Linked DNA regions of Homo sapiens: all the other regions are linked to region 5. Evidence: promoter capture Hi-C in human tissues and cell types (Jung and others, 2019). All regions are on one chromosome and are shown on one strand. The core of a region is centred on a gene start or on the middle of the fragment in contact, and the rest is flanking DNA. Distances in the headings are between cores, read along the strand shown.

Evidence for each region. Contacts are between HindIII fragments. The study calls those that stand out against the background at their distance.
Region 1: a contact is called between a fragment that was not itself captured here and the fragment with the promoter of GPR20 in region 5, in 1 of the 25 tissues and cell types used here (spleen).
Region 2: a contact is called between a fragment that was not itself captured here and the fragment with the promoter of GPR20 in region 5, in 2 of the 25 tissues and cell types used here (IMR-90 fibroblasts and spleen).
Region 3: a fragment that was not itself captured here is called in contact with the fragment with the promoter of GPR20 in region 5 in 1 of the 25 tissues and cell types used here (dorsolateral prefrontal cortex).
Region 4: a fragment that was not itself captured here is called in contact with the fragment with the promoter of GPR20 in region 5 in 1 of the 25 tissues and cell types used here (lymphoblastoid cells).
Region 6: a fragment that was not itself captured here is called in contact with the fragment with the promoter of GPR20 in region 5 in 1 of the 25 tissues and cell types used here (lymphoblastoid cells).

The regions. Positions count from the first base shown.
Region 1 is chr8:140,629,085-140,631,784 of GRCh38, reverse strand. The region is part of intron 1 of AGO2 (argonaute RISC catalytic component 2); the gene reads left to right. Among named protein-coding and RNA genes, the nearest start is that of ERICD, 3.8 kb to the left of the region's middle. RefSeq lists an enhancer at 747-1,247. The HindIII fragment of the contact is 7,062 bases long and covers 1-2,700 here.
Region 2 is chr8:140,774,640-140,777,339 of GRCh38, reverse strand. All of the region lies in intron 14 of PTK2 (protein tyrosine kinase 2), which reads left to right. Among named protein-coding and RNA genes, the nearest start is that of MIR151A, 43 kb to the right of the region's middle. The HindIII fragment of the contact is 8,167 bases long and covers 1-2,700 here.
Region 3 is chr8:140,752,612-140,755,311 of GRCh38, reverse strand. All of the region lies in intron 19 of PTK2 (protein tyrosine kinase 2), which reads left to right. Among named protein-coding and RNA genes, the nearest start is that of MIR151A, 21 kb to the right of the region's middle. The HindIII fragment of the contact is 3,965 bases long and covers 1-2,700 here.
Region 4 is chr8:140,797,413-140,800,112 of GRCh38, reverse strand. The region is part of intron 12 of PTK2 (protein tyrosine kinase 2); the gene reads left to right. Among named protein-coding and RNA genes, the nearest start is that of MIR151A, 66 kb to the right of the region's middle. The HindIII fragment of the contact is 4,961 bases long and covers 1-2,700 here.
Region 5 is chr8:141,365,836-141,368,535 of GRCh38, reverse strand. It overlaps GPR20 (G protein-coupled receptor 20), which reads left to right and starts at 1,250. Exons shown (of 2, transcript NM_005293.3): 1 at 1,250-1,335. RefSeq lists an enhancer at 1-487. The HindIII fragment of the contact is 55,577 bases long and covers 1-2,700 here.
Region 6 is chr8:140,661,006-140,663,705 of GRCh38, reverse strand. The region is part of intron 35 of PTK2 (protein tyrosine kinase 2); the gene reads left to right. Among named protein-coding and RNA genes, the nearest start is that of AGO2, 27 kb to the right of the region's middle. The HindIII fragment of the contact is 5,799 bases long and covers 1-2,700 here.

The DNA of each region.
Region 1 (2,700 bases), core at 16-2,515, 740 kb after region 5:
TCTAAAGCAATGGAGACGTTTTGAACATACCCCAGTGCCGTTATGACAGTTAACAGTCTGTGATCAATTTCTCTCATATTCTCAGAAGTGTGTTTCCAGTTGGGTGCTTTGGATCCTGAATTTTAACCAAAGTTCACACACACATTTGGGTCTCTGCCTTCCGCCTCTAAAGCTAGCCCACCCTCTCTCTTCTCCCTGCATTTGACTTGTTATATTTACGTCTTCTTTTTTTTCTTTTTTTTTTTTTTGAGACGGAGTCTCGCTCTGTCACCCAGGCTGAAGTGCAGTGGTACCATCTTGGCTCACTGCAACCTCCTCCTCCTCCCGGGTTCAAGCGATTCTCCTGCCTCAGCCTCCTGAGGAGCTGGGACTAAGCCACCATGTCCGGCTAATTTTCGTATTTTTGGTAGAGATGGGGTTTCACCATGTTGGCCAAGCTGGTCTCAAACTCCCAACCTCAGGTGATCTACCTGCCTCGGCCTCCCAAAGTGCTGGGATTATAGGCGTGAGCCACCACGCCCGGCCTACGTCTTTTAAAATCTCTTTTCTTCAGAGCATTCGTGCCTCCCCTCCCCCTCCGTTTTTTCTTTAATGGTTTTAGAAAGAGCCCCATTGCTCAAAATTTTTGTTTTTTGGGCTCCGTTTTGTTGAGGGGGGCTGTTTGGAGACCCAGTTGCTCATGGTTTTAATTCTGACACATTTAAGTGGTGTTTTGTTTTGTTTGTTTCTGAGGGTTGGGGTTGTTCTCTGTTGCCCAAGCTGGAGTGCAGTTACACAGTCATGGCTCACTGCGGCCTCAAACTCCTGGGCACAAGCCGCCCTCCCACCTCAGCCTCCCTAGTAGCTGAGACTGCAGACATGTGCCACCATGCCCAGCGAAGGTGTTTTACTTTTTTAGAGATGGAGTCCTGACATGTTGCCCAGGCTGTTACGCAGAGTGTTGGGGCAGGTCCCTTTGCATCTTGAGTTTTCAGTTGCAGCAGAATCCTTTTTGTGGTCCTCTTTCAGCAGAAGCGACACTGTATGACCTATGGCAAATACGGAAGATAACTGGAGGCTCTTGTGCAGTTTATCTCTTACAGTTATTTCAAATAAGAGGGATTCTTTTCTCCCCAGTGTTGGGTTGGGAATGGCTCCCTCTTTCACATATCTCTGCCCTTATCGTTTGTGGCCAGCTCTGTGCTGCCTGTGGTTGCTCTCTCCTCCTCACTGGGGATCTGCTGGCCCACGCCACACATTGAGAGCCCCAAGCCTGCTGCTGCGGTCAGGGGCCTGCACTTGTTCGCTGTAGCCACTATTCTAATTTTTTCCTCCAAAAGTTTAGGAACTTGAAACCACTCTTTGTTCTTGGTCCTTTACACGTTGTGACCAAATCGCCAGGCCCTCCCAGTTTCTGTCTCCATAGAGCTGCACCCAGGGTGAGGAGACACTTAGCATTTGTGCTGGGAGCTTCCTCCAGGGCAGTGGGCACCTGTAAGCTTTCCCTGGTACGAAAGGCAGACACAAGAACTGTCCGTGCAAAGCAGGGTGGACGGGCGGCCTCTCAGATTCAATGCGTTTTTAAAATCTGGGGCTTGTGTGTAGCTTAAAGATGAACAGGCTGGAACATTTTAAACTTGGTTCACCCCTGATGGCACTGCACTTCCTGAAATCCTCAGAAAATCTGATGGGCGTGAGTGTGGTGTCATTGAGGTTGCCAGTAGTTCTTTCCAAAGGGTGCTGACGCGTGTCCCCGTTGTGAGCTGGGAGAAGCAGGGTGTGGGAGGTGGGCCAGGCCTCCCTGGGTCTGCCAGGAACCGGGCTGTGTGGGTTGGATCAGGAACTGGAAGCCCCACCTCTCTCCTCTCCTCTCCCCTCCGCTCCCCTCCCCTCGCCTCCGCTCCCCTCCCCTCCCCTCCTCTTCCCCCTGCTCCCCTCCCCTCCCCTCTCCTCTTTTCTTTTCTTTTTTTGACAGGGTCTCACTCTCATGGCCCAGGCTGGAGTGCAGTGGCACAGTCATGGCTCACTGCAGCCTCAACCTCCCCGGGCTCCGGAGCTCCACCTCAGCCCTTTTGGGCAGCCTCCCAGGTAGACTGCAGCTGTGGACCACCGTGCCTAGCTAAGTTTGTGGAGAGACGGGGTTTCCCTGTGTTGCCCGGGCTGTTCTGGAGCTCCTGGATTCAAGTGACCCACCTGCCGCAGCCTCCCAAAGTGCTGGGGTTACAAGTGTGAGCCACTGCGCCCGGCCCCCTCCTTTTTCATCTTCTCACTGTCATCGAGATGGACAGACAGGAGTCTGGTCAGAACTGCAGCCCCGTCCGCATCTCCTCGTGTGGTCTCAGTTTTCTCGCCTGTTAAGTGGGGACTTTGGCCTGGATGACTAGCATCCTCTCCAACCTTACTTCCCCCATACAGTGACTTTTCTGCCTTCCCACCTGGCCCCGGGCACGGGCGCCTGCGCTGAAGGGAAGCAGCACATTCCCCACGAATCCTTAGTCTTCATACAGTGACCCAGGACAGAAGAGAAGGTGCTGGAGGCCTGCAGTGACAGCCGGAGCCGAGGTCACACATTGGCTGGCAGAGCCTGGCCCCTACTGTTTCGTGCAGTGTTTCTCTTCCTGTTTGATCTGTCAAAAAAGTCCGTGGCCCCAGAGTCGCGCGTTTATTATTAGTTTTTAGAATTTTTAAAAATTTATTTATTTATTTATTTATTTTGAGACA
Region 2 (2,700 bases), core at 182-2,681, 590 kb after region 5:
GCTTTTGCTGTGTGATGTGCCTGCTCCCTCTTCACCTTCTGCCATGATTGTAAGCTTCCTGAGGCCTCCCCAGAAGCCAAAAAGATGTCAGCACCATGCTTTCCATGAAGCTGGCAGAACTGTGAACCAATTAAAACGTCTTTTCTTTATAAATTACCCAGTCTCCGGTATTTCTTGATAGCAATACAATAATGGCCTAATACAGCAAACAAGGCAGGTTAAGTTTGGCAGGCTTAATCAGGTTAGCTCTGGTTTCATTAGCACATCACCCACTGTGGTTTCCCCGCCTTAGTAGCCCCCTTCTGACATCACTGGTCCGCTTATGATAGAAGAACTCTTTATGTGAGTTATTGCGATTCAGTGTTGCTCCTTATTGAAATTGCCCTGCTTTTGCTTCCAGAATACCATATTCTTCCTACTTCACTCATTATTCAGCACTTCGCGCCTGAGGATCCCAGGACTCAGTTCTTCTGACACTTTGTGTCAGCCACAGTCACACCCTTGGGGATCTCATTGTGTTTCATGACTTAATTATGCTGCTGACTCTCAGATTGTTATCTTAGTTTTTCAGACTTCTTTCTTGAACTCCAGACCCGTGGCCACTATGTTCTCGCCATGTGGAATCTGATGTCTCATAAGCATTTCAGACTTAATATACTCAAAAGGAACTGATATTCACGCCAAGCCTGCTTCTCTCCCCTTCTCCACTCACTAAATGGCACTACTTTCCTTCTGGCTGGTCAGATTATCCTTGGGGTTATTTTTGATGCTATTCTTTGTTTTCTTCTCCCATATCCAATCTATTAACAAATCCAAATTGCTCCTGCAAATAAACTCTGTACTTATATTAATTTTGCCTAAGTTTTTTCCTTTAGGGTTTACACTGGGAATATATTTAGAAGACCAAGTCATAGATTGAAGTTGTCCTATATAGGTACTCTGATTAGCAGCAATTACAAGTGGATTTGTAAAGGAAAAAAGAACAGACAGTTCTTAAATTGTTTACCAAAAATTGGCATTAAAATAATGTAACTATTGGCCAGGTATGGTGGCTCACACCTTTAATGCCAGCTCTTTGAGAGGCCGAGGCGGGCGGATCACCTGAGGTCAGAAATTCCAGACCAGCCTGGCCAACATGGTGAAACCTGTCTCTATTAAAAATATAAAAATTAACCAGGTGTGGTGGCGGATGCCTGTAATCCCAGCCACTGGGGAGGCTTAGGCACGAGAATCACTTGAACCTGGGAGCCGGAGGTTATAGTAAGCAAGATCACGCCACTGCACTCCAGCCTGGATGGACACAGCAAGACTCTCTCAATGAGAATAATAATAATAATAAACTATTGATTGTCCATTGTTCTTTATATCACAGATTCCAGGAATGTGAAGATAATATTTTAGTGGTTTAGGTGCAGGGGCGAAGATACCCTTAAAAATGGTAATTTCCTTTATAGGTGTAAATTTCTCTGACAGAGGATTTCAAAATAAGCAGCTAAATGTCAGAAAGTTGTATTTTGGAGACTGATTTATTTTGATAGGTGTCCTTTTCAACTTAGCTTGTTTTTTAATTAGATTACTGACTTCAAGTTGGAGCCCTTTAATGAACTGGGCAAATAAAGCATTTGCAGTTTTCAGGGCCTAGTATTTAAATATTTGAAAAGCAGGCATAGCTGGAAGGCCCAGCATAAAAATCAAGGGCCTGGTATGGTGGCTCACACCTATAGTCCCAGCACTTCAGGGAGGCCGAGGCAGGCAGATTTCTTGAGCCCAGGAGTTAGAGACCAGCATGGGCAACATAGCAAAACCCCGTCTTAAAAAAAATCAAGGACCCCACTTTTTGTTTTTGTTTTTTTTTAAGGCAGGGTCTCACTCCGTTGTCCAGACTGGAGTGCAGTGGCGTGATCTTGGCTCACTGCAACCTCCATCTCCCGGGCTCAAACAGTTCTCACACCTCACCCTCCCAAGTAGCTATGACTACAAGCACACACCACCACGCCTGACTAGCTTTTGTATTTTTGTAAAGAGAGTATTTTGCCATGTTTCCCAGGCTGGTCTCCCAACTCCAGAGCTCAGGTGATCTGCCCACCTCTGCCTCCCCTAGTGCTGGGATTACAGGCATGAGCCACCATGCCTGGTTCCCACTTTTACATTGAATCCTGGTTCCCCCGAAAGAGGGAAATACCATGGTGTTACCTGAAAGGAGTTCTGATCCAGACCCCAAGAGAGGGTTCTTGGATCTGGCTGAAGAAAGAAGTTGAGGCAAATCCATAGGGTAAAATGAAAGCAAAGGAATAAAAGAATGGCTACTCCATAGGCAGAGCAGCAGTGTGGGCTGCTGGACTAAGGATACTTACAGTTATTTCTTGATTATATTCTAAACAAGGGGTGGATTATTAGTGAGTTTTCTGGGAAAGAGGTGGGCAATTCCCAGAACTGAGGGTTCCTCCCCTTTTTAGACCATACAGAGTAACTTCCTGACCTTGCCATGGCATTTGTAAACTGTCCTGGCATTGGTGGGAGTGTCTTTTAGCATGCTAATGCATTATAATTAGCATATAGTAAGCAGTGAAGATGACTGGAGGTCACTTTTGTCACCATCTTGGTTTTGGTGGGTTTTGGCCAGCATCTTTACCACAAGCTGTTTTATCAGCAAGGTCTTTATTATGACTTGTATCTTCTATCAACCTCCTGTCTCATCCT
Region 3 (2,700 bases), core at 24-2,523, 610 kb after region 5:
ATTCTGAGAGTCAGTAAACATGAAGTTTATCTGATTGGCACACATTTTTTTCTTTATTAGGCAAGATTATCAGGCTTGTTTTTTCTTTCCTTCAAGCACCTGCTGATCACTGGCACATTCTCTCATTATTATTCGCAGCCTTAAAATCCGTTATTAAATCTAATTTTCTCTTAATTCATCCTAGAATAGCTTTTTTCTACATTTATTTGTTAAGATATTTTAAACGTCTACTAGCTGTTATTAATTCAGAGCCTAATCTTGCATCCCTTGTCTAGGCATAGTGGCCACAAGGTGGTATTTTCATTGAACAATGAAAAACTTCTCTTTTCCCTAAATATTGCCTGTATTTTACGAAGATTTTAAAAATCTATTTTGAGTAATTACCAATTAGTAACTTTTTAGTTTTTAGAAAAAACCCTTTGCACACGTTCTGGTCTTACTTACTTTGAACTGACCCATTCTCCAGCAGTCCGATCTCTGTAACTGGCCCTTCTAACAGTTCAGCATTCCCTAGACCTCTGCTGTCCACTTTAGGGGCCACTAGCCGCATGTCCTATTCGCCAAACCGAAGGCTGAGCCTCATAATCTGCTCATGTTGGCATTTTGTATATTTGCCAGCTATGGAATCTTACACTTAGCATTCATTTGAAACCCTAGGTCTTTAAAGAGCAGTATTTTGTTTGCATTTCCTTAGACTGTCTTAATAAAGCACCATGTTTACTGAGTATTTGATTAGTTGACAGGATTAATGATGGTTTTAAGGTCTTATCAAAGATTTTGTTGCTCTGATCGTCTATAAAATGGACATTTTCGGTCAGTTTTACAGTATACCAGCCATACAGTTTTCTCGTATACCTGTTACTTGCAGCCAGCCTCATATTTAGCTAGAAAAAGAATTCATGGTCATGGTCCTAAAGAAGTACACAGTCTAATTAAGGAAGACAAGACTGACTCATTCAAAGCAAAGTGGTTATATTTTAGCACAGATACGGTTAATGATTCTAAGGTTGTAAACTCAAACATTTAGTAGATAGGGTATTCTGTGCTCTTGTTCACATTCTGTGTGAGCCAACTACTCTGTCCTCCAAGGACCACGTCACCATTACCACCTGAACCCCTTCCTTGAGGCATCTGGCACATGGGCATGCCTCCTCTGGAGGTGAAGAAAGGGAATGCAGTCCCTGAGTCGATGATACAGTTCTCTTACCATTCAGATTTCTCTTGTTTGAAAATGTTTTATTTCCTGGAAACACATAGTATACAACTAGTGTGAAGTCTAAAATAAATAAAGGTATTTAAGGTATTTTGAAAGTATGCGACAGCTAACTTGTTAAGCAAAACACAATTTAAGGTATTTTTAAAATATGACACATCTAACTTATTAATGAACATCTTCATTTAAAAGAAATATATTAATAGCATTAATTAATTCTGCAGATCTTTACTGAGCATATAGTATGCATCAGTGCTATACTAATGGGGATTTTTTGACAAAACAGGCAAGTTACTTGCTGTCTTGAAACTTACATTTTAGTGATGGAGAATAGACAGTAGTTATGTAAATGACAATATTATCTCTGTGTTATGTATAATTATAATATATAAAATGATATAATGTGAAAGACAATAGTAAGTGTGCATAATGACTTTTTGGCTTTCAGAGCAACACATTTTCTTGGTTTGTCTCCTGCCTTCCTGGTCACCCCTTCTCAGTCTCCTTTGACATTTTCCACTCTTGTCCCTGACCTCTTCATGTTGGAGAGCTTCAAAGCACAGTCCTTGGACCTCTCTCATCTCCCTTGGTGATTTCGTCCAGTCACATGGGCTAGGCTACTTCTGGATTTCTATGTCCAGTTCAGATTTCTTTCTTGAACGCCAGTCACAGTATCCTGCTGGTCACTTCACCTGTGTGACTTGGCTATCTTACTGACATCTCAAGCTTATTACATCCCAGGCCGAGCTTCTGATCTTCCCCTTCCATCTTGTCAGTTTTTCTGGTCAAAAACCTGAACTTGACTCTCTCACACCTGCATCATGAGCCACCTTTGCCCTAGCTTCAGAGTATAACCAGAATCTCAGCCCTTCTCTCCACCTCCACTGCTACCATGTTTGTCCAAGCCACCATCACCTGTCACCTGTCACCTGGGGTACTGTGGTAGCCACCCGCAGAACTCCCTGTGTCTCTAACCTTGCCTCTCTGCAGCCATTTCTCAGTACCACAGCAGAATGCTCCTTCAAAATTTTGGGTCAGGCCATGGTACTCCAATGTCCAAACCCTACCTTGGCTCTCCATTTCACTTGAGTAAAAGTCGCATCTTTCTATTGGCCTTGAAGGCCCTGTGTGGTCTGGCCCCTCCGTTCCTCTCTGACTCTGTCATCTTCACCCTCCTACCTTCCACCCTCTGTGCCAGCCTCACTGGCTTGCTCATGTTCCTTGAGCACGCTATACACTGTTCCCTGCTGTTTCTTAGCCAGCTCCCTCTCCTCCCTCCTTTAGTTTTTTTGCTCTTGTCTCATCTGCTCAGTGAGGTCCCCCTCATACAGCAGCCTCCATCCCTGTCTCCATATCCTGATCTGCTCTCTCCCTTTTCTGTAACACGGTTACCTTCTAACATACTATGTAATTAATTCTTTATTTATTATCTGTGTTCCTCACTGGAGTGTAAGTGTGACAGGTACAGGGACTGCTGCCTCTGCTGT
Region 4 (2,700 bases), core at 138-2,637, 570 kb after region 5:
TATAACTCACTATAAATAAAGTGTCCTTTCTACTTTTTCTTATATATCTCAAAAGCTTAGAGCATTCAAAGAAGAAAGTACAGTCTAAGTCATGATGTTAAAAAATCAAAGATTAGAATGAATAAATATCCTAGAAACGTCACTATAAAAGCGGTGTGGAGTTTTTGCAAGCATATAATGAGGAATGCTTTTGAGGATTTGGATTTCTGAAAGAATCAAATGAAAATATTCCCAGCAGGATAATAGCATACATAGTGTGAAGCAGGGAAAGACTGAGTTTGGGAATTATGGGACTTAAGTTCAAATCATGAGTCCTCTGTGACACCATCTATAAATTACTTTTCTGAGCCTCAGTTCTGTCATCTGGTCAAACACGAAGAACAGTAACTGTCTTCTATGGTATTAGGAGGATAAAGGACTTATTTATAGGCTTGGAACTATGCCTGGCACACTTGATGCTCCTAGATTTTAGTTGTATTGTTGTTCCTGTTGTTGCTACTAGTTGAGTCTGATCTTGACACTGTATCAGCCTAGACTTTGAGATACCTCATCTGTAAAAGAATGATACCTATTTTGTAGGGTTGTTAGACACCTCCCAAGGAGTAACTGTAAAGCAGCTCACGCTGTGGAAGTGGGGACTCTGAATGTGGGTTTTGCCAATACCCCTTCTAGCACTCACCTCAGTGACTAGGATGATTATAGAGGAAAAAAAGTCCTGAAGTGCTGTGTGGAGTGCATTCAAGTCAGCAGAATTGTATTAAACAGCGATGAGGATAGAGAAAAGGCCAAAGGTCAAGTGAAGCAGATAGAAACGCAGAGGATCCAGCCTTGCCCAGCAGGGAAGTGCTCTGTTTACAAAGCAGTTTGAGGAAGGCATGGTGTTTGCATGGGAGGTACATGTGAGTGTTGTGTGTTTTATAGAGAGGAGTCATTGGACCCTTTATTTATGTATCTCAAAAGAGGTAACTGATGGTGCTGTGCCCTGAAAACAGCAGCTGAAGCCATGAGCCTTCGCTAAGTAAACATAAATCTGTGTGATTCCAGGACATGGCTTTTCTAAAGGAAAAGTGTTTTCCCACGGTGATCACACCAATAAGCCTATTCATATATTTTTCCTAAGTTTTCTTTGTATAAAATAGAGTAATGAAGTTGCTTTCAGAAATCTCTACAGTTACTCTCAGTTAAAGCCTTTGCAGCTATAGGTCTTGATTTTTCACTTTGTGCTTTATTTTTTATTTTTATTTTTGACGTTTTCTTCTTCCAGTGTCGCACTTTATACTTTAAACAGGAGTATATGCCTTACAAATATTATTTAAATGTTTTCAGATAATTTCTTTACATAAAGATAGTAATTTAGGAAAAATGTTAAATGTAATAGATTGCCCATTTCCTTTTTAGTGAATAATTTTTCATCTTTTATCTTCAGTTTACCAAAAGGTCCTTGACATACACATTTAAAAATAACATTCGGATGTCAGGCATTAAATGAGCCTTCCATGTTTAAAACGTAAACATCTTCCTGTGTTGATTTCACTATTAGCTAGCGTTTTTTGCTCTCTAGGGAGAAACATTTGGATATCAAACATGAAATGCGATGCTTTTTAAGCTCTTTGTTCATATGAAAAGAGCATTAATGAAAATGCTTGTCATGAAAAGCTAGATAGGGCATTGGTTGTTTCCAATTTTATATTGTCTTTATAAAATGAATTATTAAACTTGGTAATTTTCTTATTCTCAATCATAGCATGTTTATGTATTATATAACTATTTCATCATAGATCCCTAAGGTGAAGATACATTGCCTAGTTAAAATAATATTAAAGTCAAACATCTTTAGTGGATTATAGTCAAAAATACATGTGAACACAGCACATGTACATTTTTTAATTGAGATTTTTTAAGAGTTCAAATGTTAAACATGTTTCTGCAACTCTAATGTACCGTTTTCCTGGAAACATGCTTTAAATAATAATTATATATGCCCATCTGTCTTCTCTAGATCATAAACTACTTATACATGTATACATGTATATGCATAACATAGCATGACAGTAATAAGTGATCAGTACATTCTACATGTGAATTGGGTGTGCCCAGATGCATTTTGTTAGTTCTTTGATCTACCATAGTTACTTTGGATTTATAAAGTGCTTTTAAAAGGGATGTTACCTTGTCATAGTGGCTCATGTCTGTAATTCCAGCTACACAGGAGAATCCCTGAGGCCAGGAATCTGAGACCATCCTGGGCCACATAGCAAGACTGTATCTAAAAAAAATAAATTAATTTTAAAAAATAAAAATAAAAGGTGATTTTCCTGGGGAGAACATAGTAAGAGCCACAAGCCAAATTGTCCTGGACTGCATTCCACCACAGTCTGCATAACCTTGGCCCTTTCTGTAGGGCATTATCTAACCTACACCTTACCTGAAAGAAAGTATACAATCAATTTTGCAGTGTTAGTAAAATTCTGTAGTAACATTTTTTCAGAGGAAAGTGTATAGTGTAATATAGAGTTGTAATTACATAATTGTAAGTAGGTTTTCTGTGTATAGAATGATGGTGAATACTGTGCATTTCAAGGGAGGGAGTGAATGCTTCTAAGCATGGCATAAATTCCAGAAGACATAAAAATAGAACTGTTACATTTAATTACATAATTAAAACACTTATGTGCTGCTGAAGCGACACAATTACATAAT
Region 5 (2,700 bases), core at 1-2,500:
TTGGGGAGCCTTCCCTGAGTCTCCGGTGTGCAGTACAACCCACTCAGCAGGGCCTCGGCACTCAGGCGGCTGGAAGGTTAAAGTGTGAGTATCAGCAGAAGCACACGGGATGGGAACAAGAGGAGATGGTGCTCTCGGCAGAGGAGACACTAACTAAATGGCCCCAACCGCTCCCCGACAACCCCCGCTGCCACCCCAGGCTGGCCACAAGGCCTCCTGGCTCTGAAGCTGTCTGGGGAGAGTGGCCCTCCAGCAGCCCTCTGGGATCAAGCCTGTTGATGAGCTCACGCTTCCTCCAGCACTGAGGTCCGGGTCCCACACGCTCTCCCCACCTGCTGGCCTGGGTCACGTCCAGGTCTTTCCCACACACCTGACCCCACATGCCACATGCCACCGGTGCATGGGTGCAAACAGAGGCCCAGATGCCAGGTGTGCAGGCTGTCGGTCATGGGTACACACAGACACAGCCAAACCCAGGACACATGCAAAACAGAGAGCCATGCAGGAACCCAGGCTTGCGTGGGCTGAAGCTACCATGCACATGCCCCCTCCCGGGAAGGAAATTGGGCTTTCGTGTGCTCCCACCTCCTGTCCCGCACACAGCACGCACAAGTGCCAGCCACCATCTCCTGGATGGTGCAGCTGAGACTCAGCCCCTCCGTGCCTCAGTTTCCCCCTCCTGCCCCCCACACAGCACACACAAGTGCCAGCCACCGTCTCCTGGATGGTGCAGCTGAGACTCAGCCCCTCTGTGCCTCAGTTTTCCCCTCCTGCCCCGCACACAGCACGCACAAGTGCCAGCCACCATCTCCTGGATGGTGCAGCTGAGACTCAGCCCCTCCGTGCCTCAGTTTCCCCCTCCTGCCCCGCACACAGCACACACAAGTGCCAGCCACTGTCTCCTGGATGGTGCAGCTGAGGCTTAGCCCCTCCGTGCCTCAGTTTCCCACCTCCTGCCCTGCACACGGCACACACAAGTGCCAGCCACCACCTCCTGGATGGTGCAGCTGAGGCTCAGCTCCTCGGTGCCTCAGTTTCCCCCTCTGTCTCCAGTGGGTGTGGGGACTCTGGTGCCCCAGGCCCCTCTGTGCCTCGGTTTCTTCTTCTGTCTCCAGTGGGTGTGGGGACTCTGGTGCCCCAGGCACCGTCCCTCAGGCTCTGAGCCTTGACTCCTCCTGGGGGCGGGGAAGGAGCCTGCCCCGCCCCCACCCTGCCTTTGCCCAAAAGGAGCCCCAAGCGCTGGCCTGACGTCAGGCCGTAGGAAGGCGAGGTCCGGGCTGCATGCAGAGCTGAGAGCTGAGGACTCCCATCTCCAGCCTGCCCGGGTGAAGCGCGGTAAGTTCCCCTGTGGGCTGGCCCCAGCCTCCCTCTCCCCAGCTTCCCTAGATAGGAGGCTCCTGAGCTGCTCCCTGCAGGGGTTCTCACCCCCAGCCAAGCAGGAGTGGGAAGGGCAGGGCAGAGAAACTGCCTCCAGATCCGGGCTGGGGAGAGCTCAGAGCAGGTCCTGCTGGACAGGGAGCCATTTCTCAGATGAGAAAACAGAGACCTGAGGGAGAACATGGGCGTGAGTTGGGCTGGCTGCATAAGGGGGAGCTGCGCTGCTAGGTGCCCACCCAACTCTGGATTTCATTCATTCACTCATTCATCCCTCCGTTCAACACTCACCGAGCATCTGCTGGGTGCCCAGAGCTGGGTCTTGGTTTCCCCACCTGGCAAGGCAGCAGGGTGGCCCACAGGCCAAGCCAGGGACAGAGTTGGGGGACCCCAGAGGCACTTGGCAGGCTCTGGGGCCTCAGCCACCACCACCCCGCAGCTGGGGCAGGGCCATGGTGAGGGCTTTGTGGGCATGGGCTCCAAGCGCCATGCTCCCTCTTCAGAGTGCCCGTCCTGCCATCCCACAGCTCAGGCCCTCTGCAGTAGCCTTGGTGCTGTCTCTACCCCTTAGGGGTGGGGAAACTGAGTCCCAGGGAAGGCTTGCTTGCCAGCCCTCAGTGTGGACCTAGAAGCTGGCTCCAGCCCCGCGAAGCTCGCACTGGGACTGCGCTGTGAGAAGGCGGCAGGACAGGGTCCCGAGGGGGCAGCGGGCTGGGAACTGGCCAGCAGCCAGGGTGCTGGCGGGGCAGACGTGGAGCAGCTGGCGACCTCGCAGGACGGGGAATGCACCCCGCAGGAGGCTGGGCCTGTCCACTTGCCCTGTCTTCTTCCTTCAACAGCTGGTCATCCTGGGTCTTCCCTCCCCTCTCCCCCCAGGACTCATCCAGTCGCTGGGCTCCAGGGCGGTCTGCTGAGTGGCCGTGGCAAGTCGCTGCCCCTCTCTGAGCCACACGGTGTGGGCCCATCAGCAAAGGCGGGGTCTGCGGCTGGAGAGCCGGGCGTGGGGGCCATGCAGTTTGGACCATTTCTGAGCAGCTCCTGGAGCCCACGGGGTGGCTTCATTGTCTTCTTGTTAAGTGGTATTAGCATCTCCTCTTTATAGATGAGGAAACTGAGGCTCAAGGAGATCAGAGGGGTATTCTAAAATCATCCACTCCATCACTCAGCAGTGACTCAGTGACTCAGAGGGGCCAGCCAAGGCCAGGGCCCCTGAGGCACTCCAGTTCAGTGAGGGAAGCACAGCGAACAGGAAAGCAGGGACATAGGGAACTGCGCGTGGCAGGGCACTGCGAAGGAAGCCAGGCGGTGCAGGCGTGCGGGGCTGTG
Region 6 (2,700 bases), core at 77-2,576, 700 kb after region 5:
CAAACCCTGTTTCAAAAAAAAAAGTTTTAAGGAATAAAAGTTGACCCAAAATACTGTAGCCCAGCAACAACTATCATTTTTGCTACCTTTTGGCAATTTTGTTTCAATTATATGACTAACAAATGAAAGGAAGCACCTGCATTTGTTTTAGTGTCTTTGAGCCTAGGGTGTACATTCTGTGGTTGGGATTGACAAACGCATGTGGGATGCGTCCCCACTACAGAGTCCAGGATCTGCAGGCTTCAGCCTTGCTCCCTGCTGACTCCAGCTGCCTGCTTTTCTCATTTCTAGGGAAGCATGGGCAGTTCTTCATCCCAGCACACACTTTTTGTTTGTCCTTTTTATTTTGAAATCATTTCAGATTTATATGAAAGTTAAAAGATTAATAGAGAGAACTCCCAACTTTCCTTTGAGTTTCACAGCCTTTTAACATGTCAGCACATTGTCACCTTGCTCCATTGTCTATGTGTGTACACACATCACTTCCTGCTGTCGAGCAGCTTGAGAATGGCTGTGTATCTCATGCCCTCTTCCCCTTTAAGATTTCCATTTATATTTCTCATAACAAGGCCATTGTCCTACATAACCACCACACAATCACCACATTCTGGAACTTTAACATGATGTAATGCACTGTCCCACTCTGCAGGGCACGTTCCAGGGTCGTCGGTTGTCTCTGTAGCACTTTTCCGTCGCCTGTGAGAGCCAGACCAGGATTACACTTTGCACGTGGTGTTGCTTTCTTCAGCCTCCTTTCATCTGAAACAGCTCCTCAGCCTTTTTTTATCTTTCATGACATTGACATTTTTGACAAACATAGGCTCAGTGATTTTATAGAGTATTCTTAAAGTTGGATTGAGGGATATCCTATAAACATTTGTTTCTTCCTGATGAGATTGAGATTTTGCATCTCCAGTCAGGAATACAACATAAATAATGCTGAATCCTTCTCAGCATCATACCCAGAGACATACGATGTCCAGGGGATGTTCCAGTTGACCAACTGGACATTGACTTCTGAAGGACGGTTGGACACAACTCCTGTTGGTGATTCCTTTGTAAGTGGCATTGATTCATATGCATAAACCCTTTAACTTGTTTTTGAGAAGGCCTGTGACTGGTGCTGTAGTGTAACTTCACATCCCAACCAAATGGGGTTCTCTCACTTACCTGCTTCACCGGGCCTCTGGCTTTCCATGACAAGCCTCAGTTTTGCCCCAAAGTGGAGAAGTTCCATATGCTAGAGGCAAGAAAATGGTGTCCTACCAAGTGGATATTTTAGTGGGACTATTTGTCAACACCTACTCTAGTTGATAAAGTCTAAAGTAATCTTTTCATCTCCCCTGATTCCAATACACAAATTGCTCTCCTGTATACAGTATTTTTTAATTATTAATTTTTTTTTTTTTGAGACAGGGTCTGTCTCTGTCACCCAGGCTGGAATGCAGTGACTCCATCACAGCTCACTATAACCTCCAACTCCTGAGCTCAAGTGATCTTCCTGCCTCCGCCTCCCAAGTAGCTGGGATTACAGTTGTATACCACCACGCCCAGCTAATTCTTTATTTTTTTGTAGAGACAGTGTCTTACTGTGTTGCCCAAGCTGGTCTCAAATTCCTGCTTCAAGCCATCCTCCTACCTCGGTCTCCCAAAGTGCTGGGGTTACAGGCGTGAGCCACCACACCTGGCCTTAAATCATTTTTGAAAAGAAGAGGAGCCTGTCTTTGATCCTGCATCTGCCTTTCACTGTCCTCATGCCTCCTCCTGTCCCCATTGTACTTCCTGAAAGAGCAGCCCATCCCTGATGGGGCCACCTCCTCACATGGCAGCTGCACTCAGCGCCAGCTCAGAGCATTCCAGTGCTCCAGCTGTTTGGAACTCTCTCTGCTGTAACAGCCCTTCAAGGTCTCCTAATTGCCAGAGCCCCTGCTTTCCCCTCAGTCCTAACTCCCCCTTGAGACCCCCTGCTCTGGCCCAGAGCTTCCTCACTCACTCCTCTCCTGCCAAGACCTCTGCTCAGGCTTTTGTTCCCTGCCACCCTTGAGTGTGGTCATCTCCCAAAGTGCTACCCACTTGTTTTATTAAAAAATACTTTTTCACTCTGGTAGTTCTTCTCATTCTCATAGATTCAAGTATTTGATGCCTCCCAAATCTGTGTTGATTTTATAGAACCCCGCCCTGAGCTCTGATCTCCAACTGTCTGCCATTGGCAAGAACGGTCTGCTTTCCTTGTTTGCTTCCACAGTCAGTGACAACACCATGCACTTGCATGTCTGTTCCCAATCCCCTACACACATGCAAACAACCACACACCTTCCATCTCTCATCAGGTCTCAGGTTGGTCCGTTCACCTGCACATCCACCATCACCTCTCCTCTGAAGATGGCCTCTTAGATGGTTTATCTGCCTCTTGTCTGTTCCCCTGCCCTTCCATTCAGCCTCCACATTGCCGCCAAGAGCCATCTTTCTAGAATATCTCTCTAGATTTTGTCATTCTCCTTCTTAAAAATCTCTTATCCCTCTTGCCAAGTCCTGCCAAATAAAGATCAACTAGGTGTGGCTTTCACAGTTGAAGCCAGCCTACTTTTACAGTATAGGCCAAATTCAGACAAATTCTCTCTGTGAAGTCTTTCTGACCCTCTCTGAGACAGAATGCATTGCTGTCTTATCTATGTACTTTTCTACTACGTGATTTATTCC